7 separate regions of the Homo sapiens genome follow, and regions 2, 3, 4, 5, 6 and 7 are each linked to region 1. Evidence: promoter capture Hi-C in 16 types of primary human blood cells and fetal thymus (Javierre and others, 2016). All regions are on one chromosome and are shown on one strand. The core of a region is centred on a gene start or on the middle of the fragment in contact, and the rest is flanking DNA. Distances in the headings are between cores, read along the strand shown.

Region 1 (3,987 bases), core at 1,094-3,593:
TAACCGTTCTACAAAATGACAGGTATTAAACCAGATGCATTACAAGATTCTAATATCTGTAATCTAGTATTTAATATTTGAATTGCATGACCAACTGGTAGCATGGAATAAAAAAAAATCACTCTATTTCAGAAAGTATTGCTTGGTATAATAGAAAGAACATAAATTTCCATCTTAAAGGACTTAAGAATCCACTTCCAGTTAAAACAAAAACAAGTCCTTTGATGTAACCATATGGTGCCCATAAATCAATTTAAGTTCCTAAAACTTCCTTAAAAGCTAATAAGCTTTTATTGGTTAATTATAAAACTGAATGAGGTGAGAAAAACACAGAACCTTGTTAATTTCACTAATGAATCAAATTTAAAGAACATAAAGAGGTCAGGGGCTTAACTGATGCAAAAATACACACTTTATTAAAGCAAGTTTTGCAATTTAGTTCAGCTTTAAGAAAAACATTAGAAAATTTACTTCGGAAAAGCAGAAAATGCTTAAATTTCCCAATTTCCATTTAGATGAGTATATATTCATATAAAGACTGGTAAATGGTGAAAACTATTTCAATGCAAGATTATATTTTAAGGGATTTACCACATAATCTCAGTAACTAATGCTGTTCTTTAAAATTATTTTTTCAATTTTATTTTCATATGAATTTAGCCTAAACGTTGAGGCATACTTCACGTTTATCAATAAATACTTATTAAATGTCTACTATTTAACAGGAAAGCTTTATAGGTGCTGGAGATACAATAATGGAAGATCAAGCCCTGCATTTAAAGACCTTAGTAGGGTAAGTGAGACTGCAGATAAAAAGGGCTTAAGAGGTAAGAAAGCAAGCTATAGTTGTATTTAGGAAAAAAGGTCCCCCACTTAGGAATCAAGGAACGGTTCCTGAAGCAAGTGACATGTAAGTAGGGACCTCCCAACCGTGTTTCCCATTGGTTACAACAAGGCCAGATGTTTTGGTCTATTTTGACTATGTCATATTTTTCGTTGATCCATGGCAAGGGCCACAGTAGGAATATAATATATATGTGATTACTTTTAGAAATAAAAAGTGACTTTGATGTAAAGAATTCCATTACCGGAGGCCAGAATTTCAACATCAATTTATTTGGAGGTGGAGTGAGGTGGCAGTCAATGCATTATTTTCCCCACACAGAAGAGAAGATTTTGGAGTATGAAAAGTAGGTTACTTGTTAGGTCAGCATATTCATGGGAAGGGTTGTGTAAAGACTGAAGCGGGAGTGTGGGGTTGAGAAGGGCGCTGAAACCTAAGCCAAGGAAGTTAAGACTTCATTACTTCTGACGTTTATTTAGGGGGTTTACACTCTAGGTTACCGTGGGGGAAAGACTGATTGTAAATAACTACAATACCTTAAAGTAATTACTATAACAGAACTATATCCGAAATACAAGGTTAACACGGAAAAGGGAACACCCAACTGTGCCTATGGGGACCAGGGAGGGCTCTCCCGGGATGGCTTTGAGCGAGGCGTGGGAATTATCCCCATCGCATGCCCGGGGGAAGCACAGCGGGACCCAGCAGCTTCGGCCAAGCGCAAGCGGCCGGAGAACGCGCAGCTTTCCCGAGGCGGGGTGACGCAGGGCCCTCGCGAGTGGAAAACAGGGGCCAAGTCGCGGCCTGGCGGCTCGGTTCGGACTTCCTACTTTATTCAAAGGGAGTCATTGAAGGCGTTTTCGGAGGAGCAGCGAACAAAGAGCTCGTCCGTAAGCCAGATGGTCAAAGGAATCAGTGGGAGGACCCGGGCGGCGCCGTCTCTCCACGTCCCGCGGGACTTACCCGGACAACCCTTCCTCCTTGGCTCTGGAAGAAGCCCCTTCGTCATTTACCAGTTTGGCCTGAATCCTAACTACTGTGCCTCCAAATTTCTGAATTTTCTCAAAAGGAAAAAAAAAAAGGAAAGTCCTCTTTCTTTACCCAAGCAAAGACTAGCTCCCCGGGCTCAACCGCCAGGCCCAGGAGCACCAGGAAGCGTTTCGAATCCAGCGCCGGGCCCGCGCGGCCCCGCCTCTTCCGGGAAGTGACTGACCCCTTTCCCCCAATGGGGCCCGCTCGGCTTTCCCTTGCCGGCTCCCAGCCGGCCTAGCGGACGCATGCGTAGACCAGCTGCCGGGGGCGCTCAATTATCTTTCCCTTTTACTTAGGCAAATCACTCACCTCCCCCGAGTCCGGTCACTGCGGAGCCGCCCGTGCCTACCAGCTTCCCCCACCCGCTAAGGGGCACTTCCGGCCTCTCAGACTCCGGCGGCGCGAAACCCCGCAACTGCGCAGGCGCGGGCGGAGCCCGAAGGGAGGGAGGGCGGGGCGCAGGCGCGGTTAGTACCGCGGTGGGCGCCGGGGCTCCCGGGAATCTACCTTCTCCTGCGGCCGGCACGCGGTTCCCAGGGGGCCAGCGGCGGTCAGCCGAGGTCGAGACGCCCGCAGGGTGGCCTTAGCGGCCGGTCGTACCACGGCAGCCCCGCCGATCAGGTTCCTTTGGGAGACTTCGACTTGTTGGCGGTAGGGTGAAGGCGCGCGCTGTCGCTTTCCCTTGCTCCGGGGTTCATCCTCCGCCCGCTGCCCCCTTGGCTGGCGACCCCCAGCCACCCGGGAGAGGCAGGGTCAGCTGAGCTGCGGCGGTGTTCATGGTCGTCCTTGCGGGCCCGGGCGGGAGATGTCCGTTCCTCGGGCGGGTCGGGCGGCCGGCGGCACCTTCGCGCGCTCTCCGAGGCGGCACCGGTCTCCTGAGCCGCGGGAAACCTGGCGTCTGCTCCGGGCCGTCCCCTCCCAGGCGGCCGTCCCCTCCCAGGCGGCCGTCCCCAGACTCTCCCGGGCTGTGGCGAATAACTGTAAAGCGGGGAGAGGTCTGGGGAAAGCTGGGGTAGGGAGTGGCTCTTAGCATGAGTCTGATGATATCTCGCAGGCGGCAACTGGTGTGTTTAAAGGGTGTATGCAAAGATCACTGAAATCGGATTTGTCATTAAAGCCCAGTTTTACGAAAATGCAAATTGTATTACCTAGAAAAATTAACATGTGTTCAAAGGTTTACTGATGGCATTTCTCTGCCCTCATTTCTTACAGAAATGAACCGGAGAAGAATCCCAATTGGGAATTGCGGAAAACAGGACTCTAGGGTAGAGAAAGGTTGTAGAACCAATAGGGTTTGAGGTAATACTGTGAAAATTCTTAGAGCAATCATTTGGTGTTTGAGCCCTCAAGACAGAAGTTTTGTGAGCGCTTATTACTCTGCATATGTCACGAGTAGTAGATTAAAAGCCAGTGTTTTAAAGGCAAACTTCTCAGTAATATATATTCAAAGGAAAAAAGAAAAACCCAAATCTCCTGACTTTTATATGGTTGCAGTGTGATCTTTTAACATGTACAATAGTATATACAGTGGCATGCAGTTTGTTCCATGGGTGTGTGGGTAGAGAGGGAACATATTAGAACTTCTATTTAGATTTATTTCATTTGATTTCTACGTGAAACATAGGGTATTAATTTTATGTTGGAACATGTATTTCAAATTTCTTTTGCTTAATGGGTGCAAGTACAAAACGTTTGGAGGCCACTAGTATATTGCCTAAAAGCGTGTATTTATATCACAAAAAGCCAGAATTGTGTGACTCTGAGCAGGTTGGTACCACCTCTTTAAGTTTCAGTTCTTCTTATGCAAGTTGGAAGAAATAATACAGTTATCAGTGCATCCTCTGTATCCGTGGACTCAATCAAGGGACTGAAAATATTTCAGAGGAAAAAAAGTGGATGGTTGCACAGACTTTTTTTTGTTCTTGTCATTATTCCCTAAACAGTACAGTATAACAACTATTCACATAGCATTTGCATTGTGTTAGGTTATATAAGTAATCTAGAGATAACTTTTAAGTATGTGGGGAGGTTATATGCAAATATGACACCATTTCATATAAGGGACTTGAGCATCTGTGGATTTTGGTATCTGAGTGAGAGAGAGGGGCTGT
Region 2 (3,987 bases), core at 605-3,104, 2.9 Mb before region 1:
AACTAGCTCAACCTTAAGAAGACTCTGGTGCCTGTGCCCACTTAGAGCCCAGCACACCCCCCTTCTCCTGCAGCCTGGGACCCTTCAGTCCCTGTCCCTGTGCACCAGAACTAGGGCGTCCTATAAGTATCCCAGCATCCAGCCCAGGGGCCATGTCAGGCCGTCAGAGAAGGCTTGATAGTTCTAACCGAACCACAGGGCCATTTGGGGATTGGGTACCAAGATTTCCAGGTACCAAAAATAAGGCAGTCTGTGCTAGGCACTGGGCATGTGCTGGCAGGGATGGATGACCTGGTCACTTGCAAGGCCTCTGCCTGCCTTCCCAGGCTAGGACCTGAGGTATGCTGACTGTCAGTGGCTCCCAAGCAGGGCTGCCTCAGCCCCACCCGCTCACTTCCCAGCCCTATTCGCCTTTCTTTCCCTCCTGCCCTCCATGCTGGGTCTCTGGCTGGATAGAATTAAGGCCGAAATTACTTGCATTTCCGCCTGAAATTAGGTAAATTTTCTCTATCTGTCTGCTTTAATGATTTCAATGGAGATTAATAAAATCCAGATGACATACAGCAGCCACACCACAGCCTCACCTACATCTTACCTTTGGAAGGCCCAGGGCAGAACAAGGTGGGGTGCTTAGTCTAAGAGAGGCCTGCATTCCTGCAGGGTCCCCAGCAGGCCTCTCCTCCCCACACCACCAGGATCCTTGACCTCTGGCTCTCCCAGGGGCCCAGCACCAGACACAGGCACCCATAGCTGCACATGTCACACACACACAAACCACCACCACCCAGACCAACCTGCTGAGCAGGGCACTCCTCATACCTGGTTATGCCACCAGCCTCTCCAGGGCCATTTACTTTAGTCTGATACCTGCCTCTGCCCTAGTTTTCCCTGGGCTTCCCCCAATTTGTGTGGCCCGCAGGAGACTGGGAGCTGCAGAAATTGCTGCAAGGAAGGAGCCATCACCCTCACCACCGTGCAGTCCCTCTCGCCGTGACTCCCGGGAACACAGCTCTTGCCCTCCTTTCTTCTCTGAGGGCTCCGAGGCCACTCCAGACCATTCCCCAAGAAGCGAATCTTGGCCTCCGCCTGCCTCCTCGAGGGGACCAGCCGGCCTGCAAGGCCAGGGAGACCTGGGAGAGGGACCAGTCAGCCCTCTGGGACTGGGCCCCGGGAGCTGCCGCGACTCTCGCCACAGTCCAGGTGCAGCGGGCTGGAGAGTGTTGGCCTCGGCGAAGTTTCTTTCTATCACCTGAGGGTGGGCCGCATGGGGCCGCGGCTCCAAATGTAACGGAGCTGCGGCACGGCTCCGGGGCTGGTCTCAGCCCAGGACCTGACGGGATGGGCGGGCACAGAAGAGGCGTAAGTACCTTGGGTCGCCTGGTCTGTGAAGCCGGTGATCGTGTCCGCGCGACCATGGCCCGAGGCGGAGACAGCGGCTGCCCCGGCCGGAGCCCTCCCGGCCAGGCTCCGGTAAAGCGACATCATGAAGTGGTGCGGCACCACCGAGCCGTTCCTGAAGCCGGAGCCCGCGGCGCGGCGCGCGGCGCGGGCCCGGGGAACCGCGGCGGCCGGGACAGCCGCGGCGCCCGCAGCCTGGGCAAGAGTCCGCCCGCCGCCGCCGCCGCCGCCGCCGCCCCCTGGGCTCCGGACCGGCCCAGCCCCCGCCGCTCGCAGCACGGCGGCCGCTTCCAGCCCGTCGCGGGGGCGGCAGGCGCTCAGCAGCCAAAGGCACAGCGCGGCGGCGGCGCTCAGGTCCATGGGCTCCGTGGGCCGGGCGGGCGGGCGGCGCGGGCTCCGTGGCTCCGGGAAGTCCCCCGGCGCCTTTTGAACATAGTGTTTAATAATGGGGGAAGTGTGCGCGGCCAGCCCGCGGCCCCCCCTCCTGGCCCACCCCACCCCCGCCCAACGCCCGGAGCAGCGCCCCCTGCTGAAAGCTCCGGCGGCCGCTATGCGCCCCCCACCCCGGCCTAGAGTGGAGACCAGGGCCGGAGCCGCCTCCTCCCACCGCAGCGCTACGCCCCCACCCTCGCCAAGCGACTGCCACTGGCCCCAGCCTCCCGACACGCCTCCCCGCGGCAGTGCGACACCCCCTCCATCCGCCCAAGACCAACGCGCCCTCCGTGGTTCCAGGCTCGGGGCACCGCGCGCACCCGCCCAGCTTCCTCCCCACTCCCCCGCAGAGAAACACCCGCCCCCTCCCTGCCCTGGTTCCCAATGCCGGGAACGGGGCGGCAGAGTTGGGGCCGCGGAAGGGCTCGCCCTCCAGACCGCTTCGCGCCGCGGCCGGGTGGCCGCGCAGAGAGAGGCCACAGGATGCTCCCGGCGGCCTCAAAGTCGCGTTCCGGATCGCGGGTCGGCGGTTCCCCACTCAGCCACAGACCCCAAAGGATTGCAGCGGGCGGCCAGAGCAGGGGAGGGGGCCGGTAGGGGAGGAAGGGAGGGCGAGGAGCTGAAAGGGCAGGCCTGTAAGAGACCTTTGGACGCGGACCGCCCGTCGTAAAAGCAAGGTTTGGGCGCGGAAGTTGCGCTTCAGCGGGAGCCAAGCTCTAGAAAGAGCTCGAAATGAGGACGGCAGCCCCGGGTGATGGGGGATCTCGCGCGGGAGTGCGCTAAGAGTTTGGCTGTGCGTCCAACTGGCGACCTTCCACCCGCCTTCTGGGCGAGGGCAGCGGCTAACGAAAACCAGCTACCGGCTGTGTGCGTGAGCGGCCAGGAGCCGGGAGAGCGGACGGCGCAGAGCCCCGGGATGGCGCCTCCGAGCTTCTTACCCCGCCGCGGTGATGGCGCGGGTCCCGAGGTGGATGGAGGGGACGCCCGGCAGCGGCGAAGCCCTGGGGCGCACTCGCGCGGGCCGCAGAGCAGTTTGCTCCGCGGCTGGGACAGGTTGCGGAGGCCAAGTCTCAGGGGAACGCGCAGGAGAGGGGGGTTATCGGCTCTGCTCCGCCGGCAGCCTGGACATCCCCCTAGATCGGAAACTTTCAGCTGATCGAAGGCCTGGGCCAAACGAACTGCCGAAGAAGGGCAGGCGGGTCCTTTTCCTTTAAAATTGCATTTTCTGCAGAACTCAAAATCTAGACTGGGTCGGCACGTCGTGATCACCTTGAGCGGGTGATCAGCTTCAAAGCGAGGTCGCCCGCCGAATCCAAAGCCGCCTAGGTCCCGACGCCTGCCTGGCTGCGCTGCGCTGGGACCCACAGAGAGGCCCGGCCCAGGCTCCCCAGTTCCCCTGCTCCACTGCTTCGTCCCAAACGAACTCCTCAGCCATTGCCCTCTCGGCCACCGCGGAGACGCGGCGCCTGCTCACCTTGGGGCATTGAGCCGCATAACACTCGAGAATGTTTGCGGGTGGGAGAGAGAGGCCTAGTGAGGTTCAGTCCTCGCAGACCCCAAGGCCGATCTATGCCAAGGAGAAAGGCCTGACATTACCGGGAAGGGCGGACCCCTGGACCAGGGTCAGCGCTGCCGGCGCTGAGGGACTTCTCCTAGCAGGAGCCTGGGGAATCTGGGATGATCGAGCTGGGATAGTCCACCCTGCTTCTAGGACTGGGATTGGAGAGTCGGTGACAAACACCGCCGCCCCCACTCCGCCAGCCCCCCGGTCTCTCCCTGACGCGGATGCTGGGTCCTACTGTGTTACTTGGCTTCCTTTCCCCCTGCAGCCATGCGCCCGCAGTGTTTGGGTGTTTTACAAATCAACTCGGCTAAGATTTGTGCAAACACGCGGGGAGTCCTGGGTGACAGCAAGTCGCTTGCCTTGTCTTGGCTTCAGTTTACCCGGCTGTGTAGAGCAGAGAGCGGAAGGGTCCTAGCACATTCTTGGCACAGCCAGTGACAAACGTTTGTTGATTACATGACACCCCTGCCACGTTGGGGCTTAGGAATGAGGGATGCACCCTTGCTGTCATTGTGGGAGCAGGCCACTTAGCCTCTTGGAGACCGAATTTCCTAATCTATAAAATGAGCGGATTCTCACCTCATCCTGTGTGT
Region 3 (3,987 bases), core at 895-3,394, 2.9 Mb before region 1:
GCCTGAAATATTTGCTATCTGACCCTGTAGAGAAAGTTTTCCTATGGGTTCAGGGAAGTGGGAGGGTGATGGAGTAGGCCCAGGTGCATCAGACTCGTCGGAGGGCTTACTAAGAAAACAAGATGGCTGGCCACCCTAGGCCCGAACATGCCTTTCTTACAAGTTCCCAGGCGATGCTGATCCTGATCCAGGGACCACACTTTGAGAACCCCACATCTAGGGCAAGGTAGGGTTGCCAAGCCTGGTGTGGTGCTGTGCCTTCAAGTCTGCAGCCATGAATTTCAATGGGACCAGGCTGCATGTTTACACCATGTCTGTCCCCAGTCACGTTGAGCCACTTGGGCACAGGGTGAAGGAAGCAGAGAACTGGAGAAGTGGGCTTTGACCAGGCCAGCTCAGCTCTGGGTAAGAAGTCAGGGGAGCTGGGCCTAAGGCAGAGGGATTCCAGCAATGGAATGGGACCCTGGAAAAGGGGTGGGGTTATGGATTGTGGGTTCTGGCGTGGTCAGAGAACCATTGGATGTGGGGTGCTGTGAGGGAGCTGGATCGTGGGAGGTGCCCATCTGGGTCTGCTCCATCCCTTTCCCACCCCTGAGAGGACCTCCCCGCAGCTCAGGCACTGCCCTTCTTGTCACTTTCACCCCCCTGTGCCTCGTTTTCATCATGATCCTAAAGAAATGATGCCTGGCTTCTTTCTCATGCCTGCCCCATAAGAGGCCACCTGGGCTCTGGAGCAGCTGCCTGGGATTGAACGCAGCTCCACCTCATGCCGGGTGAGACCTGGGCAGGCACTTTCCCTTTAGGGGTCTGTTTCCCTGTATTTTAAGTGGGTCTGGGTAGCAGAGCTCCTTCGCAGGGTTGCAGGAGGCGGAAGTGACTTCACACAGGTGCATCCCTAGAGCCCAGCGCGTCTCCCCTCAGCATCCAGCCTCACCTTCCTCCTCCACACTGGTGGCAGTGACACCGTGGGTGACACCAGGCCGCGCGTGCACACTGCGTGAACTCGGTGCCGTTGGCAGAGGGCTGGCTGTGCGTGTGCACCTCCCAGTGCCCATTCGGCCCTTGCTGCACTTTTCACCACCTGAAGGCAGGTTGCCTGGGGTGCCCTACGCCGCGGGAGGATATTCCTTGTGTGTACAGCACTCAGTCATTGGGTGTCATACATGGCATAGGAGACGCATCACTGTAGGCCTCACCAGTTGGTGACAGCAGCGTTGTGCTGGTGACAGCGTGGCCTAGCGTGGGATGTGAGGGGTCCGTGTGGGAGGAGTGCTGGGGCAGGGGGATTTGATGGATTGGGGTATAATTCCAGAGAGGGAAGGGCCTTGCCCCAGACACAGGTTAAGCTCCAGAAGCTCCTCCCGTGTTTTCAGGGTCCTGCCCAGCACACAGGAGGTCTCACCTCGATGGTCAGAGCTGCTCAGAGGGTGCCCCACGTGTCCTGCCAGAGGTGTTTGCGTGAGGGATGTTAGTCTGCACAGGTCTGTGTCTCACCTTATGTAGGATGAGGGATGTATTTAATAACTTTTTCCACTTCAAGAAAAACATCTCATCACTTCTTTGCTCATCATACAATTCATTATATTCGAATTGCATTTTACAAATCTCCAAGAGCGGTGATGTTTTGCCGATGCATCCTCTCTACACCTCGAGGGGCAGCATCGACTGCCCAGATGAGGGACGGGCCTATCAGTGCCTCTCTGGGCCACGGTGGGTCACAAGGGTCCTGCCTCCAGTGCTCGTCCCGTGTCCCCCCCAGGGGGCCTGTAGCAGCCCTCCTGCCCATTAGCCAAAGAGAGGTGCCTGTCTCCAGCTGGGATTTCAATCCCTTGCTGTCCCTGCAGCCCCAGGCATGTTCCTTGGTCTGAGTAGAGGCCCTAGGATGCTGCTCCCACCCATTCTGCACAGAGTTTGTGTCGATCCCTTTCAACAAGCCCCATCCTTTCCTGTTTTCCTGCAGGGAGCAGACCTTTGTCCCTGAGCAACCCAAAGGCAGGACCAGGTCCGAGGCCTCGAGGCCTGGGAAGCCAGGCTTATGAGGGCTGGTGTGGCGGGATGGGTGGCCTGGAGCAGTGACCACTGAGGACAGCCAGCAGAGTCACCTGGCACCCAGGCCTGCCAGGCACCCAGAGGCCCTGCCTGCACTTTGCTCGGGAAGCCTACTGCCTTGACCCTGAACCCCACCTGCCTTCTTTTCCCCTGGCAGGCGACTTCAGAATGCCCACACTGGCCTCGACCTGACTGTGCCCCAGCACCAGGAGGTACGGGGCAAGATGATGTCTGGACACGTGGAGTACCAGATCCTGGTGGTGACCCGTCTGGCTGCGTTCAAGTCGGCCAAGCACAGGCCCGAGGATGTCGTCCAGTTCTTGGTGAGCCGGAGGCTCTGGCCAGGATGTTTCGAGGGTGCCCGGGGTCCGGGCGGGCAGACACATCTGCCCACCAGGGTTCAAGTAGCATCCAGAGCAAGTGCTTCTCTGTCTGTTGCTTGCTCAGGGCCTGGAGTACCAGACCATGCTAGACAGAAGGGACACAGGGTGAATCAGACGCTCTCAGTCCGTGGAGAGGCAGACCTCTAAAGAGACAGATACAGATGGGGACAGGAGCACCTGGGGGGCTCTGGGGGTATAGAGAAGGGGCACCTAACTGACCCTGGGGAAACTTCTTGGAAGAGGCGGTGGCTGAGCTGTGTTTTGAGGAACAGATGGGGCTCAGCAGGAGAGGTGAGAAGGGTGTCCCGGGCAGACAACACATCCTAAGCAAAGGCACGGAGGTTGGAAATAGGACATTGAGTGGGAACTCTGCACAGTTGAGTGTGGTCCTGGGAGGAAGCGGGGAAGATGAAGGTGAGTGACAGGCAGGATCCAGATTGTGGAGAGTCTGCGGGAGCCTGGACTTAACCTGCAGCCAAGGAGAGTTTTAAGCAGGGGAGTGACGTGGACCCTTTTGCCTTTAACCAGCCAATCTGCTGAGAGCATGGAGTTGGATTGGAAGGAACAAAACAGGTGTCAGGGAGCCCAGATACATGGCCAATATGGTCATTCCCAAATCAAGGGCTTGGAGCAGGCCAGTTGCACTTGGTATGGAAGGGAAAGGGAGAGTTGAAAATGTTTACTGGGTAACATGCACCACATTTGCTGACTGTTTCCACCAACTGAAATAAAGAATATGATGGAGGAGCAGACCTAGGGGGCATGTGGAGTGTGAAGTGTCTGCCCTGTGGATGGATACATGAGGCTGGAGCTCGGGACGAGCTCAGGCCTGAGATGTAGGCTTGGGAGTCATCAACTTGGAGGTGATATTAAAAATCTGGGAGTGGATCAAGTTGCCCAGAGAACAGAAGTGGAAGGCAGAGAGAAGGGCTGAGGAGGAAATCCTGAGGATGCCAGGGGTTCAGGGACTCTTGGGGAGAAGGAGGAGTCTGCAGTTGAGGCAGAGAGGAGAGAACTGGGTGGGTATCTACGGAGTCAGAGGAGCTAAGGGAGGAGAGAATTTCAAGAGGGTTGAGATCACACACTCATTGGCTTATTATTTACCATTTGGCCTCTTGTGAAAAGGACCTGCAGCTGGAGACCAAGAGACACAGGTCCAGGATTATTAGGACAAAGGTGAAATGAACTAGACCCCGAAGTACAGCAGGGAGTGACACGGGGCTAGCTTGGAGTCTCCTGGCAACCAAGATAAAAAGGGAAACGATGAGTTGCATCTTTCTGGTGACCTGTTGAAAGAGACACTAAATTTTAAGAGAAATTTACAGCACAAATGTTTCCTTTTTTTAAGAGATAGGATCTCCCTCTGTTCCCCAGACTGGAGTGCAGTAGTGTGATCATAGCTCAGTGCAGCCTGGAACTCCTGGGCTCAAGCAATCCTCCTGCCTCAGCCTCCTAAGTATCTAGGACTACAGGCACACACCACCATGCCCAGCTTTTTCTTTTTTAATTTTTTTGGTAGACATAGTGTCTTGTTATGTTGTCCAGGCTGGTCTCA
Region 4 (3,987 bases), core at 580-3,079, 2.6 Mb before region 1:
CAACAGAGCAAGACCTTGTCTCAGAAAAAAAGAAAGAGGACTGGGCGCAGTGGCTTATGCCTATAATCCCAGCACTTTGGGAGGCCGAGGCGGGTGGATCACGAGGTCAGGAGATCGAGACCATCCTGGCTAACACAGTGAAACCCCATCTCTACTAAAAATACAAAAAAAAAAAAAAAAAATTAGCCGGGCGTGATGGTGGGGGCCTGTAGTCCCAGCTACTTGGGAGGCTGAGGCAGGAGAATGGCGTGAACCCAGGAGGCGGAGCTTAAAGTGGGCCCAGATCACGCCACTGCACTCCAACCTGGGCGACAGAGCAAGACTCGTCTCAAAAAAAAAACAAAGAAAAAAAGAAAATAAATGATAAAAATATTCTATATAGACGCTGGGTGCATAACCTATGAATTAGCCCTGCTCCACAAGGAGCAGCACCATTCAATAAAAGATTGCAAAAATAAGATTAATAAAAATATTCTATAATTGAATGTGGTCATGGTTGCATATATTTGCGAATATACTAAAAACCATAGAATTGTACACGTTAAATTGTATAGTGTGTGAATTATCTCTCAATAAATCTGTTTAAAATGTAAGAACTAACAATGTTATCTAAAACAAACTCATTTAAACACAAAAAAAGAAGACGCAGAAAATCTGACAAGGCATGGGCAAAGATGTTTTACAGAAAGACATAAAGTCACATTTTCTGAAACCGCTGATGCTAGAAAAGAATATAATAACATGACTTCAATAAAATAAGTTCCAGAAGATGATGCATCGATTAAGGTCTGGTCAGAAAAACAGAAACCACATTGATTATTTCAACAGAGAGAATTTAACATAGGGAATTGGTTAAATAGGCACTCAAGAGATGGCAAAACAAAAAGGGTTAGTGAGGTAACACAGAGTGAGTAACTGCAGTAAGCAGCCACCACCCCTGGGGAAATAAAGGAATAAAGGGAAATAAAGGAGAGAGGTGGATGTTATCTGAACCTTCTATGTAGAAGAGAAGCCCCAAAGAGTTGGGACATGGACCTCTGAGGAAGGGGTACCCTGGATGCTCCTGAGTTCGAAGAAGAGGCCCCGTGGAGCTGGGTCTTAGGCCTCTAGGGAGGGGTGCGGTCCAGCTGCTGCTTATTCCTCTGAGGGGGTAAAACAAGGCTAATTCTATTCTAATCAGAGAATGCAAGGGAAATTGGAAACTGGAACCAGCTGCTGCAGTTGGGCTGACATACCGTTCTGGGGTCATTCTGACAAAAATTACATGCGAACAGGAAGGAGCGAAAGACTTCTCCTTTCTTCTGCCTTCTTTTTTTTTTTTCTTGAGATGGAGTTTCACTCTCGTCGCCCAGGCTGGAGTGCAATGGCACCATCTTGGCTCACCGCAACCTCCGCCTCCCAGGTTCAGGCGATTCTCCTACCTCAGCCTCCTGAGTAGCTGGGATTACAGGCATGCACCACCATGCCTGGCTTTATATTTATATATATACTTTATATATATATATATTTTATATATATATTTTACATTTTTTAAAATATATATATATATATATATATATATTTTTTTTTTTTTTTTTTTAGTAGAGACCAGGTTTCTCCATGTTGGTGGGGCTGGTCTCAAACTCCCGACCTCAGGTGATCTGCCCACCTTGGCCTCCCAAATTGCTGGGATTACAGGGGTGAGCCACCGCGCCCGGCCTTCTTCTGCCTTCTATCTTTTTGCCACCGTGCCTGGCCTTCTTCTGCCTTCTAATCTTTTTCTAGTTGCCCACTATTTGCAGAGCCTAACAGAGAGCTAGCTGTTAAGAGGTGTAGTTTGCAGATTTCTTCTATAATTTTTTTTTTTTGAACAGTATCTCGTTATGTTGCCCAGGCTGGTCTTGAATTGCTGGACTCAAGTGATCATCCTGCCTCAACCTCCAGAGTGTCTGGGACCACGGGGGCATGCCACTATGCCTGGCTAATACTTTTAAATTTTTTTTGTAGAGATGGGTTCTTGCTATGTTGCTCAGGCTGGTCTTGAACTCCTGGGCTCAAGTGATCCTCCTGCCTCAGCTTCCCAAAATGCTGGGATTACAGGCGTGAGTCACTGTGCCTGGCCATTCACATTTTTATAAAATTAAAAGAAATACATAAAAGAAGAAAAAAGCAAAACCTGAGGATAGGTGTTATTTAACAAAAGAGGAAAGCATTTTTATTTTTAGTTTGTTGTTGTTGTTGTTTTGAGACAAGGTCTGGCTCTCTCGCCCACTGGAGCACAGTGGTGTGATCTCAGCTCACTGCAACCTCTGTCTCCCAGGCTAAACCATCCTGCCATCTCAGTCTCCCAAGTAGCTGGGACTACAGGCGCACACCGTCATGCCCAGCTAATTTTTTTGTATTTTTTGTACAGATGGGGTTTCACCATGTTGCCTAGACTGGTCTCAAATATGTGAGCTCAAGCGATCCGCCCTCCTTGGCCCCCCAAAGTGCTGAGATTACAGGCATGAGCCACTGTGCCTGGCCAGGAGGTCATTTTTAAACATGAAATAACTTGCAATATGAGGATATCATGGAATGAACAAAAATTTTTTTGTAATTCCTCCCATCAAAAGATAAAGTCTTTTGAATCTGGGCTGGCGTCATGATTTGTTTTCACCAATAAATTGTGGTGGAAGGGATACTATTTGAGTTCCAAGCTGAGCCCTCTCAAGAGGCCTTGCAGCTTCCATTCTTAGTCTGCTACCATGTGAACAAGCCTGAGCTAGCCTGTTGGAGAGACTACAAGGTGCCTTGGCTGATCACCAAACCTCAACCATTAAGTTAAGCCACCAGCTGACTGTTATTGCATAAGTGAGCCAGGAAAGATCCACAAAACCTCCCAGTTGAACCCAGCCAAATTCACCAACCCACAGGTTGTGATCGAATAAACAAATAATCGTTGGGGGTAGTTTGTAACACAAGTAAATGCTAACTGATACATGATGAAATCTATATAAGCAAATCAAAATGAACAGGTCAGAAATAGAGCAGTGAACAATGAATATACTTAAATACTGAAATTAAGACAAATCAACAGGGAAATCATGGATAAAATAGAATGTAAATATCATAAAACCTGACGAAGTATTTTTTGACAAAGTATTAATATAATAAAAAATTATAAGCAAAAAATTAGGAAGGACAGGGAAGAGGTGGTAGAAAGTCAGACTGTTTTTTTATTTTTGAGACAGAGTCTCTCTCTGTTGCCCAGGCTGGAGTGCAGTGGCACGATCTTGGCTCACCACAACCTCCACCTCCTGGGTTCAAGTGATTCTCCTGCCTCAGCCTCCCAAGTAGCTGGGACCACAGGCGCACACCACCATGCCCAGCCAATTTTTGTATTTTTAGTAGAGATGGGGTTTCAGTATGTTGGCCAGGCTGGTCTCAAACTCCTGACCTCGTGATCCACCCGCCTTGGCCTCCCAAAGTGCTGGGATTACAGGCGTGAGCCACCGCGCTCAGCAAAAGTCAGACTGTTAATCTATCTTCAATGGAAAGGAATTCAGCACTGATCAATACTGAAACATACAGTTTGAAAAATTACAATGTCCTATTAATGATATTTATAATTTTAACCTTTGAGGTTGAGCACAGTGGCTTATGCCTGTAGTCTCAGCTACTACAGAGGCTGAGGTGGAAGGATCATGTGAATCATTCCAGTTCAAGGCCGCAGCTATGCAGTTCAGCCACTGCATTCCAGCCTCAGCAAGACGCCCACTTTTAAATAAATAAATAAATAAATAAATAAATAAATAAATAAATAAATTTTTAGCCTTTGAGAAATGTTTTATGAATCATTTTCTCTTGAGATGAAGTAACAGTTATCTGATCAGTTCCTTCTGTTTTTCTCTTTTGTCAAATTCAAATGAAAACAAATTCAATACTGTATTTAAAAAAATACTTTGTTTTAAAAATAATATGTGGAGAAAGAACCTATTATTGTTAATGTTACTCTAGCTGCATATT
Region 5 (3,987 bases), core at 645-3,144, 2.6 Mb before region 1:
TATTTATACCCATATTTTACTTTTTGAAGGAGTATTTCAAAGTAAATCCCAAACAATATGCCATTTCAAGCATAAATGCTTTTACTGATGAGGACTTACAAAAAACAAACCCAATCCTCTTGCTAGTATCATAACTAATAGAATTCCTTACTGTTATCTAATACTCATTCTATATTTGAGTTTCCCTGATTTTTCTCAAAAAAGTCTTTATAGTTGGTTTGTGAGAAGCAGGCTTACACAGTTTTTTTTTTGACATTTAGGCCTATACCACAGTCTGTGTAATCTGCTTCCCCCGCTTCAAAATTTTATGTCATAAATATGTATTTAGATCAGTAGTTTTATTATAATATTAGACAAATTGAAGCTTAGTGTTTTTTGAAGGCAGTTCTTCATATGTGGTGGTACTGTTTCATATTACATTATGAATCATATAATGTCTTACTCCACTATTAGGATGATGTCACATTTTAAATCACAGAAAATAATTTAGGAATACTAGGCCAGGTGTGGTGACTTATGCCTGTAATCCCAGCACTTTGGGAGGCCGAGGTGGAAGGATTACTTGAACTCACGAGTTCCAGATCAGCCTGGGCAACATGGTGAGACCCCGTCTGTACCACACACACACACACACACACACACACACACACACACACACACACACACACACAGATCAGCCTGGGCAACATGGTGAGACCCCGTCTGTAACACACACACACACACACACACACACACACAAATTAGCCAGGCCTGGTGGCACCTGTGGTCCCAGTTACTCAGAAGGCGGAGTTGGGAGGTTCCCTTGAGCCTGGGAGGTCAAGGCTGCAGTGAACCCTGATTACGTCACTGTGCTCCATCTTGGGCAACAGAGCAAGACCCTGTCTCTTTAAAAAAAAAAAAAATTATATCTTTAACTTTAGAACCACTTTTTAGGCCAGGCACATTGGCTCATTCCTGTAATGCTAGCATTTTGGGAGGCCAAGGCAAGGTGCAGATCACTTGAGTTCAGGAGTTCAAGACCAGCCTGGGCAACATGGCAAAACCCTGTCTCTACAAAAAATACAAAAATTAGTTGGGCATAGTGGTATGCATTTGTAGTCCCAGCTCCTTAGGATACTGAGTAGATGGATCACTAGCCCAGGAGGTCAAGGCTGTAGTGAGCCATAATCAATGCCACTGCACTCCATCCTGGGCAATAGTGAGACCCTGCCTCAAAAAAAAACAAACAAAAAAACAAAAAAACGCTTTTTGTGTTATGTAAACAGTTTTCTAAAGCTTGTCATCTTCATTTCCATCTAAATTATTTGACCTGCTTCTCTCAGACAATACCTAAAGCATCAAAACCCAGCATAGATTGAGGCTGTTTAGTGTGTAGATCTTATCTAAGTAGTATATTTTTCAAAATAAGGCAACTTTTCTTCAGCAGTATTTTGATTCTCCAAATAAGTCAGTTGAGAGGATGCCTTATAAGAGGAGAAACTTTTGTAAGGACCCAAATATATGGTGATTCCCCTTTCAGAGAATTTTAATGGAACAAAAATCTTATGTTTGCACATATATAGATTTGTCTAAATGATGGGGTTGGAATAAAACATTAAAAGATTTGAGCTTTGAGCTAATAGGGTCTTTGAAGGAGATTTTTGGCTTCTGTAAGTCTGTATGTTGACAACACTAATTTTTATGCCAAATTTCATTCAAAACATAAAACTTTACTTTTCCTTATTATAATTGAGTCAGTAATACTATTCTTTGTTATAGAGCTTTTTTGCCTTGCTAGTAAAGCCAGCAGAGGTAACTCCCCCATGAAAGTATTTGGACAAACTAGAAAACAGACTGTTGATTTAGCTCTTGGTTGACCCACTAGCTAAGTGACTTGTTCGTCACTGAAAAACTGTATGATTCAATTTATGCCCTCAGAAAAATAAGAAATTACCAAGAGTTGGTTTGAATAGTAGAAACTTTGTTAAATCTTTAAAGGCTAATGGTCTCCTATAAATACCTAAACCTGGATTTAGATTTACTTTTGTCATGTGAATGAGAAAAAGCATTGCTAAACAAAAAAAGTTTGTTGGCAGATTTGCAATAAAGTGATTTAATTTGCTGAGCAGAAGAAAGTATTCTTTAGGAATTCAGCACTTGTTTGTTTGCCGTAGATACCACGGATGTTCAATGATTATGTTCATTAAAATCAGTCCAGCTGGGTGCAGTGGCTCACACCTTTAATCCTAGCACTTTGAGGGGCTGAGGCAGGAGGGCTGCTTGAGCCCAGGAGTTTGAGACCAGCCTAGGCAACATAGGGAGACCCCTGTCTCTACAAAAAATACAAAAATTTGCTGGGGGTGGTGGCATGCACCTTTAGTCCCAGATACTCCCGGAGACTGAGGTGAGAGGATGCAGAGAGCTATGATTGCCCCACTGTACTCTAGCTTCGGTGATAGAGTGAGACCTTGTCTCAAAAAAAAACAAAACAGTCCAAGGAGGATGATTACGGAGAATATGTCCTAAGAAGCTTAAGTCACTCTGTGTATTGACTTATTTGTGACTCAACTAGGTTTTTATGTAATTTTGTTGTCTTTGTAATTGATGCAAAAGGAAGGTACAGTCTCCAGGCTGTAGATGACAGACTTGGAGAAGTAGTGCCTGTGTGAAGTTGCAATCATTAGTCATTTTGTGTTGGTAAATGTCTTCAGCAGTACAAAAAGTCTAAGCGAAAGCCTTGTTCATTGTCCTTATGTTAAAATAAGCATTGTATGTTAATATATGAAGATATGTAAATACTTAGTCACTATCCAGATACTAATTGATTTTATGATCGGAATTCACATTTCATAAAATATGGTTTTTTTCATTCATTAAATGTTGAACGTTTACATAGCTAAGACAGTCACTAATCCCTTTGACCCCAGAGGTTAATTTCTACTATGGTGTTAATTTATAATTACAAGATTATAAAAGTGTGATTAGTACCATGTGGCAGTAGAGTGCTTTAATACCATTTATTGTATCTCCAAATGCTTTCCCCACCCTGTTTTTAATGTAGGCATATGGTAAGAAATTGAACCAGATATCCAGGAAGAAATAATATTTTTAATTTAAAAAATTTTTTTGAGACAGAGTCTTGCTTTGTCACCCAATCTGGAGTGCAGTGGAGCGGACCATGGCTCACTGCAGTCTTGACCTCCCAGACTCAAGCAGTCTTCCCACCTCAGCCTCCTGAGTAGCTGGGACTACAGGTGCATGTCACCATGCCTGGCTAATTTTTTAAAAAAAAATTTTTTTTGTAGAAACAGGATGTATTTAAAAATGTCTGAGACTGGGTAATTTAGAAAGAAAAGAGGTTGAATTGTCTCATGGTTCTACAGGCTGTACAGAAAGCATAGTGGCTTCTACTTCTGGGGAGGCCTCGGGAAACTTAGAATCATGACAGAAGGTGAAGTGAAAGCAGGCACCTCTTACGTGGCTGTAGCAGGAGGAAGAGAGGGGAAGGTGTTACATACTTTTAAACAACTAGATCTTAGAAAAACTATCACAAGAGTAGCACTGAGGGGATGGCAATAATCCATTCATGAGAACTCCGCCCCCATGATCCAGTCACCCTCCACTAGGCCCCACCCCTAACACTGGGGTTTACGTTTTGACATGAGATTTGGGTGGGGACACAGATCCAAACCATATCTCAGGGTCTCGCTATGTTGCAAGGGCTGGTCTTGAACTCCTGGGCTCAAGTGATCTTTCTATATTGGCCTCCCAAAGTGCTGAGATTACAGGCGTGAACCATCATGCCTAGCCAAAACAAATACTTTTAATAATGTAAATGTCCTATATTAATGCATTTTCTTGCTTCTTTACACAAGATATTTGTCAATTTTTTGGCTTTTGTTTTTGTTGTTGTTGTTGTTGCTTTTCTTTTTTTGAGACAGGGTCTTACTGTGGCCATGGCTCACTGCACCCTCAACCTCCTGGGCTCAAGCGATCCTCTCATCTCAG
Region 6 (3,987 bases), core at 786-3,285, 2.6 Mb before region 1:
TTTGTAGAGACAGGGTTTCACCATGTTGCCCAGGCTGGTCCTGAGCTCAAGTGATCCACCCACCTCGGCCTTCCAAAGTGCTGGGATTACAGGCGTGAGCCACCGTGCCCTGCTGACATCAAGTATTCTTGTCCAGGGTGTGATGTGTCTTTATTTTTGTTCAAGTTTACTGTAGTGTCATTTGAGTGCTTTAAAATTTTTCTCATAGGGGTTTGCATATTTCATTCTAAGTTTATTTTATGTATTTTATGTTTTGTTATTGTAAATGGCTTTCTTCCTGTCTTTCATTGTAGCTTTAAAGTGTTATCTATGAAAACTCAAGTACCATATATCAGATTTCATGAATGATATTTTAAAATAGTTGAATCGTCTTCCCATTCTTGGAATAAAAAAGACTTGTATATAATAATTATTTCTTTTAACATACTCTTTCAATTTGCTAGTATTTCATTTAGGATTTTTGCATCTATATAGTTAGATGAAATTAGTCTCTGTGTATCTGCAGTTTTTTCACGTTTTTTAGTGTCAGCATTCTTGCTTCACAAAAATAATTTTAGATACGTCTTTTTTTTTTTTTTTTTTTTTTTTTCGAAGACAGGGTCTTACTCTGTCACCCAGACTGGAGTGCAGTGGTACAGCCTCAGCTTCCCAGGCTGAAGCAATCCTTTCATCTCAGCCTCCCACATAGCTTGGGACTATAGGCTCGAGCCATGATGCCCAGTGAATTTTTTGTAGAGACGGGGATTCACCCTATTGTCCAGGCTGGTCTCGAACTCCTGGGCTCAAGTAATCCACCTGACTCAGCCTCCCAAAGTGCTGGGATTATAGACATGAGCCACTGCGCCCAGCCATTTCTTTCTTATTTTAATGCCTTAGAGTATTTTAATAATATTGGACTTACGTAATCTTTAAAGATGTGGCAGAACTTTCATGTGTGAGAAACCTAATATAAATAAATTTGAAAACCTAGAAAGCATAGTGTATCAAAATTGACCCCACATTTTAACTCAATTCCACAGTTAAGCAAATTCATTATTGACAATCTTTTTTATCCAAATTTGCCTGGTCACCTCTTAGCTGGCCAATAGCTCATTTAGAAAAGGACTAGTCGATAGAAATATGTATAATATGTACCATATAATTTGCAGTTATTTAGTAATCACATTTTTAAAAATTAAAAAATAGGTGAAATTAATTTGAATATTTTATTTAGCTCATATCCAAAATATTGCAAAATGTAGTCAATATGGAACTTACTAATGAGAATTTTTGCATTCTTTTCTTTATATTGTTTTTGAAATATAGCTGATCTCAAGTCAGCTTTGAATATAGCTGATCTCAAACTAGTCACATTTTAAATGCACAGTGACTATATGTGGAAAATTTTTAGAGTGTGAGTTGACAAATGTCTTCTGTACAAAAGGCTGTTGAATATTTAAAGCTTTGCATACCATATGGGTTTGGTCACGACCACTCCACTGTGCTGGTAAAGCATGAAAATGGTTATTAGATGATGCATAAATATTGCTATGTTCCAGTAAAACTTTACTTATGGGTGCTGAAATAGGAATTTCAAATAATTTTCATGTGTTTGAATTTTATTTTTTTGAACCATTTAAAAATATTAAAACTATTCTTAGCTAGTTTGTACAAAAATAGGTAAGACGCAGGCTTAACCCATGTACTTGGCCAGACAGAAATAATAGATAGGATAGAATGAAAACAAAAAGACAGGGTTATGTAGTTGGTTGGAGAGTTCCTAGAGTACAAGGAGTTGAGGGAGAATCCATAGGGGGGTAAATTGGGAATAAAGCCAGGTGACCTACAGATGGCTAGAAGAGGAATAAACAAACAAAAAGGGGCCTATGCAGTTCAGGCTTTGGGGGTTGAGTTGTAGTAACCATGTAAGAGCTCCCCCAGCTACTAATAAAAGACCTGGTTTGGAGATTTGACCCTATAGTATGTAGTTTAGGCAATAATTCTGATACCACATAATGAACAAGTGAGTGCAAGAGAAACTCTCATGTAAGATAATGTTTCAAACAAAAATGACAGTACAAAGAAGGATCAGCCAGAAAACATGTCGCAGAGTTCTAAGTTATGGAAGGGAACTTTAAAGTTGTGCAAAGAATGTAAGAGTATTTTCAGAACCTTAAGAGATAAAGGGTGTGAGCCATCAGAGATTATCAGAAGTCTTAAAACAACAGATTGCTGTGAAAAGGAGCCATTTCATGGTCTTGTAAATAAGTCATTGAAAAAATAGTTCTAGGTGAGCTGCATAATTGGCTATCACCTACCGCTAAATGAATTAGGATATAAAACGTAGATGGTCGCCCAGAACACTGAAATTCCCTATGGTAATCAAGACATGGGAAATGTAAAGGAGAAATGAAAAGCTATGGAATGAGTTAGGGAGTAAGTAAGGATGTACAAAGCATTTGTAAAGAAAACTGTAAACTTTTCCAGAAGTCTTGAATAAATGGAGACGTGATTTTTCTGGGCAAAACTCAGCATTATAAAAATGTCAGTTCTCCCTAAATTAATGTGTGTATTAAATATACTCTTGGTCAGAATCCCAGCAGGTTTTTTTTTCTCTTTTGAAAAAAAAAAAAAAAAACTTGAAAGCTTGATTTTGATGTTTGTCTCAGAAAAGTAAATGGTACTTTTCTGTCACCCAGGCATAGAGTGCAGTGGCCTATGGCTAATTGCAGCCTCGACCTCCCAGGCTCAAGCAGTGCTCCCAGAAAAACCAGAAAATTAATGGAAAACTAAAATTAAAGCGGAGGAGGAGGACTTGCTCAACCATATTGTTTCCGAGCAGAAGCACTCACTGCCTGATGCAGTAGAAGCCAATGCTATGGCACCAGGTTTTTGAGAAAAGAAAAGCTTTTTTTGTAGGTCAACCAACAAGGAGACAGGAATCCAGCTCAAGTCTATCTCCCTGTGCTGGCTTTAAGGGAGTAATTTTTATTAGAAAGGCCTTAGGGGATGGATTTTGAGATTATTAAGTAATTGGTGGAAGAAAAGGGGAGGCCTGGGAAGTCCTCAGCATGCACAGCTATCTCTTCATGCCACCTGATGGGTCGCATGTGCAAATTGCGGGAGAGTTAGTATGAAGCGTGGTGGAAATTTGGGCTGTGATGTCAGCAAGCTTGTTCTGCACAGACTGCAGTCCATATTGGTTTTAACCGATTTCAGCCAGTTTTGTTATCTTAGAGAGTTTCTGCATTTCTTTCTGCAAATTTGAACAGAGTTTCTGCATTTCTTTCTGCAAATTCTTTCTTTTCATATCTGCCATCCTGCAAACTCAAGAATTTTCATTAGTCACTGCTTTCTTTAACTTTTTGGAGCACAGTTTCAGTTTTTTAAAACAATTACTATGACAATTAAAATAGTGTGGTACTGGACTCAAAATGTATGAGTAGATCATTGAACAAGATTACTTTGAAATAGATCCATGTGTGCATGCATGCTTGTTTAGGGTAGAGTGATGAGATGAATTTCAAATCAATGCCAAAAGAATGATTATTTGGAAAATAACTTGGGGGGGCGGTTATTGGGTCTCATTCCTAATGGACTGAAATTTTTAATGAGAAAAACAAAAGCATAAAAGATTTGATACAATTTCCTTGTTGATAGCCAAACAACCATGGATTAAAACAAAATTTTTAAAAAATTTTTTAATTTACCTATTAGGTTGGCGAGTCTTCAGAATGTTTGATAATGTCCTGTTTTGGCAGGAGTGTAAGTGGCACTCATACTTTTGGAATGTAAACTGGTACAGTTTTCCTGGAAAATAATCTAGAAATGTGGATCAAGAATTTATATGACAGAAACAGGAAAGTCAGGTGTGTTGGCACCTGCCTTTATTCTCCGCTACTGGAGGTTGAGGCGGGAACATCAGTTGAGCCTAGGAGGTCAAGACCAGCCTGAACTCTGCAACATAGTGAGACGTTGTCTCTTAAAAAGAGAATTTATGTTTTTGTC
Region 7 (3,987 bases), core at 532-3,031, 2.3 Mb before region 1:
CTGTGGTTAATCCAAACCCCACTCCGAGCTCTGCAGAGTCAGTTCTGCCTATGGCTCATGAAATCCCCACTCATTACTGAACCCTTTTAGGGAGGAAGAAACTGACACAAGTAGCAGAGGCAGAAAGCCACCCTGGTCACATCATGCAACTGCTGGGAGATGCCCTGTGTCATAAAAGGTCACATTTCTAAACGGCTAATGCTAACCCCAGATGCCAAAGCTGGGCAGAAGCAGGTTTGCAGAGCTCTCTAGAATACGTGTTCTTGTGAGCTTCAATGGCCCGGTTTTCTGCAATTCAGGGCAGATGACTCCATGTCTGGGTTGCCCATCCATCAGCAAAGATTTATCAAGCTGGGCTAGTGTTAGGTGGTTTGGTATATAAAAAGATTTAGAAACATGTCCCATCCCTCCAGGAGTTTGGTCTAGCCAAGGTAGTAAGACAAACTCACACCCAGATACTGAATAAAACCAGCCGGATGTGCTCTTGCCCAGCAGCAGGCGTGGACTCTGCCCGCACAGGGAATGTGAATGGTGCCCTCTGCAGTTGTGCACCACCATGGCCCAGGCTGGGGAGCTCAGAGGAAGAGCAGATCCCAGTGGGCTGGGCTGGGCAGGGCAGGGCAAGGAGGGTGGCTGTTCTATGCCCACATCCCTCTTCTTCCTTTCTCAGGTGGCAGTCACTGGCTGAGTTTTCTAGCCAATGGCAGAGGGCATGAGACCCAGGGACAGGCCTGGTGAAGGGCTGGATAAAGGAGCATCACAGGGGAGGCCCACTGACCTGGCCACGCTTCCTATTCATGCCAAGTCCCATGGGGCGTTCTGTAGCATCGCTGCACCCCAGCCAGCCAGTCTTCAGCCTTCTGTCCCTCTGTCCCTCTGTGCCCCTTGAATGGGGCCCATCGTAGGTTGACTGGGCTAGCTCTTTGCCCCGCTTGTTGATGCCACTTGTCATTTCCCATTTTTCCAATCAATCATGTGATGTGAAGGGCAAAAGGAAAGTGCCAGCTTTCCCAAATGCCTCCCCTGATGCCTTTCCAGAGGGAACTGTGAGAAGTAAATGTTGTTTATTAGTCACCGGGTCTATTGTATTCCACTATAGAAACCCACATGGACTAAAACATCAGTCCAGCTTCCCTGGATGGTTTCCCGGAATCCACCTCCCATCTCATGAGATGGCAATGGCTATCACAGCTCGGAGGAATCTGACTCCACTTTCACTATGAAAGTTTTGTCATGTTGAGCTTTTATGAAGTTACATTTACTTCTTGGATTAACTTAGAAACAGCCAAATTATACCCATTTCTTGGAGTCTATAGCTGTGTTTTAGTTTGCCCTTCTTTTAAAGGAAAGTCTAGAATCCAATGCTAATAAATACTTTGATTAAAATGTACTCCTTTTAATGAGATCATGTCCTTTGCAGGGACAGAGATGGAACTGGAAGCCATTATCCTCAGCAAATTAACACAGGAACAGAAAGCCAAACACAGCATGTTCTCACTTAAAGTGGGAGCTAAGCAATGAGAACACATGGACACAGGGAGGAAACAACACACACTGGGGCCTGTTGGGGGCGGGGGGCATTGCGGGGAGGGAGAGCATCAGGAAGAATAGCTAACGGATGATGGGCTTAATACCTAGGCGATGGGTTGATCTGTGCAGCAAACCACCACGGCACACATTGACCTATGTAACAAACCTGCACATCCTGCACACGTACCCCAGAACTTACAATAAAAGTTGAAGACAAAAAAAAAACCTATACTCTTTTTAAGCTACACAAAAGGAAAGGAACAGATCTTCCTCACACCCCTCAAAAGAAATGAACTCGACAAACACCTTCATCAGGAAGGTTGCCAGAACTATGAGATAATCCATTTCTTGTTTAAGCCACCCAGTTTGTGGTCTTTTGCTATGGTAGCCCTAGCAAAACAATGCAGATGGTTTCTCTTTTTAAATTGTGTAGCCAATATCTTTTTGCTCCTCCTCTGAAATAAACCAGGTTCCAGGAGGACTTGGGTGCCACCAGGTCTGCTCACCGAAATCCATTGACAAGATGCCACACATTTCCACTACATGGTGAGTCCCTCACTTTAGGAATCATGTTTACTGATGCTTTCTGGATTCTGCTGCCACTTGAACCTCATAGCTCTTTGCCAGTTTCTCCTATATGGCTTCTGTCTAATCTTAGCTGCTCTCAGCAGCCCTGATTCATATTTTGAAGGCTATGGATTATATCTGCTCCCAAATTTGCTGAAGATAAGTTTACATTTTTTGTTGTTTTTGTAGCATTTAAAAAAGAAAAAAAGAAGAAAGATGCTGAATCTATGTTACCACATTCACACCAGAAGTCCTTAAAGTTAACATTTAATCCCATAATCCTAAGTAGTGAATTCAGCAAAGCGCATGGAAAGCACTTTTCCCATGGTGATAATTACATAGTGCTTTTCATCTTCAAGGTAGTTGGCCAACACTTACTAATTAATTCTTCTAATACCCTGGAGCAATTAAAAATAAAAACCACACATTTAATTTGACTAGAGGAGATAATTACCAATATCAGCAGACAAGAAATCCTGCAAGGGACTAGAGATGAATAATTAAATTGTGGTGGAAATATTTCAAGGCATGATTGCCTTCTGCTTTCATTACAGTAAGAACATTAAACCTTGATTAAGAAAGAAATCTTATTTCCCTTTTACAGGTGAAGAAACTGAGATTCAGACAAGGAGCTTTTTGTTAAGCAAATACTAATTAGCCAATAATCTAAATGGAAGTTAATGGAGAATTGTTTAAACTCAGTGCTATGGTCTGAATGTTTGTGTCCCTCCCAAATTAAAATTAAAATTCTAACCCCAAGGTGATGGTATTAGGAGGTGGATCCTTTGGGAGGTGATTATATCATGAGGGTGGAACCCTCATGAATGGGATTAGTGCCCTTATATAAAAACCCCCTCACCCCTTCAACTATGTGAGGACACAGCAAGAAGATGCCATCTGTGAACTGGAAAGCAGGCCCTGATCAGACTCCAAATCTACTGACACCTTGATCTTGGACTTCCCAGTCTCCAGAACCATGAGAAATAAATTTCTGCTGTTTATAAGCTGCTCGGTTTATCGTAATTTGTTATAGCAGCCTGAATGGACTTAACACCTATGGTATTAAGAATTTTGAGGCCAGGCATGGTGGCTCATGCCTGTAATCCCAGCATCTTGGGAGGCTGAGGTGGGTGGATCAATTGAGATCAGGAGTTCGAGACCAGCCTGGGCAACATAGTGAGACATCGTCTCTATTTTAATTTTTTTTAATGAAAAGAAAAAAGAATTTGAAAATCCTAAATCTGCTTTTCGCCTCTATTAAAAAATCTTCAGGTGGCAGCTCTTAGTATCCTAGAGTCACATTCTGAATATTTGTAACCATTGTCCACAAGGGCAGTCAGAAGGCTCAAGTTAGTGGTTTCTAAACTTACTTTTTGGTCTAAAACCTCTTCATACTCTTAAAAATTATAGAGGACAATGAAGAGCTTTTGTTTATCTAAGGTAACTACTGATATATCCTTTACTAGAAAGGAAAATAGAGACAATTTAAAAATATTTCTAAATTGATTTTAAAATGACAACAATAAGTCCATTATTGGTTAATATAGACAACATATTTTTATAAAAAATAACTACATTTTTCAAAATATAAAAAAAGCTTGCAAGAAGAGTGGCATTATTTAATATTTTGCAAATCTGCTTAATGTTTTGCTTGATAGAATAGATAGAATAAATGTGGATAAAACAGAATAGATAGAATAGATACATGTGGATTCTCATATCTGCTTCTGAACTCAATCTGTTGCGATATGTTTTTTGTTGAAATATAAGAAGAAAATCCAGTCTTATAGATACGTAGTTGGAAAAGTGAGGAGTATTTTATGAGCCTTTTTAGATAATTGTGGCTATTCTTTTTTGATTCTATACGAAAACATAGTCAATGGTAATTCC

What was found. Contacts are between HindIII fragments. The CHiCAGO score rates a contact against its expected background, and 5 or more counts as called.
Region 2: the fragment with the promoter of GDF7 here is called in contact with the fragment with the promoter of SMC6 in region 1 in 2 of 17 cell types (neutrophils and naive CD8 T cells); the score reaches 8.0 in neutrophils.
Region 3: a fragment that was not itself captured here is called in contact with the fragment with the promoter of SMC6 in region 1 in 2 of 17 cell types (neutrophils and naive CD8 T cells); the score reaches 10.5 in neutrophils.
Region 4: a fragment that was not itself captured here is called in contact with the fragment with the promoter of SMC6 in region 1 in 1 of 17 cell types (neutrophils); the score reaches 5.9 in neutrophils.
Region 5: a contact is called between a fragment that was not itself captured here and the fragment with the promoter of SMC6 in region 1, in 3 of 17 cell types (neutrophils, total CD8 T cells and total CD4 T cells). The highest score is 8.3, in neutrophils.
Region 6: a contact is called between a fragment that was not itself captured here and the fragment with the promoter of SMC6 in region 1, in 1 of 17 cell types (total B cells). The highest score is 7.4, in total B cells.
Region 7: a fragment that was not itself captured here is called in contact with the fragment with the promoter of SMC6 in region 1 in 1 of 17 cell types (naive CD8 T cells); the score reaches 6.9 in naive CD8 T cells.

What each region holds. Positions count from the first base shown.
Region 1 is chr2:17,752,166-17,756,152 of GRCh38, reverse strand. It overlaps SMC6 (structural maintenance of chromosomes 6), which reads left to right and starts at 2,343. Exons shown (of 28, transcript NM_001142286.2): 1 at 2,343-2,527; 2 at 3,089-3,175. It overlaps GEN1 (GEN1 Holliday junction 5' flap endonuclease), which reads right to left and starts at 2,015. Exons shown (of 14, transcript NM_001130009.3): 1 at 1,808-2,015. RefSeq lists silencers at 2,228-2,367, 2,508-2,867. The HindIII fragment of the contact is 9,742 bases long and covers 733-3,987 here.
Region 2 is chr2:20,665,011-20,668,997 of GRCh38, reverse strand. GDF7 (growth differentiation factor 7) reads right to left here and starts at 1,854. Exons shown (of 2, transcript NM_182828.4): 1 at 1,368-1,854. The coding sequence starts at 1,758. RefSeq lists enhancers at 1,175-1,294, 2,281-3,111 and silencers at 1,775-1,924, 1,965-2,014, 2,085-2,194. The HindIII fragment of the contact is 16,143 bases long and covers 1-3,987 here.
Region 3 is chr2:20,643,725-20,647,711 of GRCh38, reverse strand. It overlaps HS1BP3 (HCLS1 binding protein 3), which reads left to right. Exons shown (of 7, transcript NM_022460.4): 2 at 2,207-2,372. Among named protein-coding and RNA genes, the nearest start is that of HS1BP3, 5.4 kb to the left of the region's middle. The HindIII fragment of the contact is 4,461 bases long and covers 1-3,987 here.
Region 4 is chr2:20,355,066-20,359,052 of GRCh38, reverse strand. No RefSeq gene overlaps it. Among named protein-coding and RNA genes, the nearest start is that of PUM2, 6.2 kb to the right of the region's middle. The HindIII fragment of the contact is 4,865 bases long and covers 1-3,987 here.
Region 5 is chr2:20,333,433-20,337,419 of GRCh38, reverse strand. All of the region lies in intron 1 of PUM2 (pumilio RNA binding family member 2), which reads left to right. Among named protein-coding and RNA genes, the nearest start is that of PUM2, 15 kb to the left of the region's middle. RefSeq lists an enhancer at 3,216-3,275. The HindIII fragment of the contact is 1,234 bases long and covers 1,278-2,511 here.
Region 6 is chr2:20,302,066-20,306,052 of GRCh38, reverse strand. The region is part of intron 7 of PUM2 (pumilio RNA binding family member 2); the gene reads left to right. Among named protein-coding and RNA genes, the nearest start is that of PUM2, 47 kb to the left of the region's middle. The HindIII fragment of the contact is 1,184 bases long and covers 1,444-2,627 here.
Region 7 is chr2:20,058,838-20,062,824 of GRCh38, reverse strand. LAPTM4A-DT (LAPTM4A divergent transcript) reads right to left here. Exons shown (of 5, transcript NR_187142.1): 2 at 779-1,044. Among named protein-coding and RNA genes, the nearest start is that of LAPTM4A-DT, 8.7 kb to the right of the region's middle. The HindIII fragment of the contact is 3,831 bases long and covers 1-3,696 here.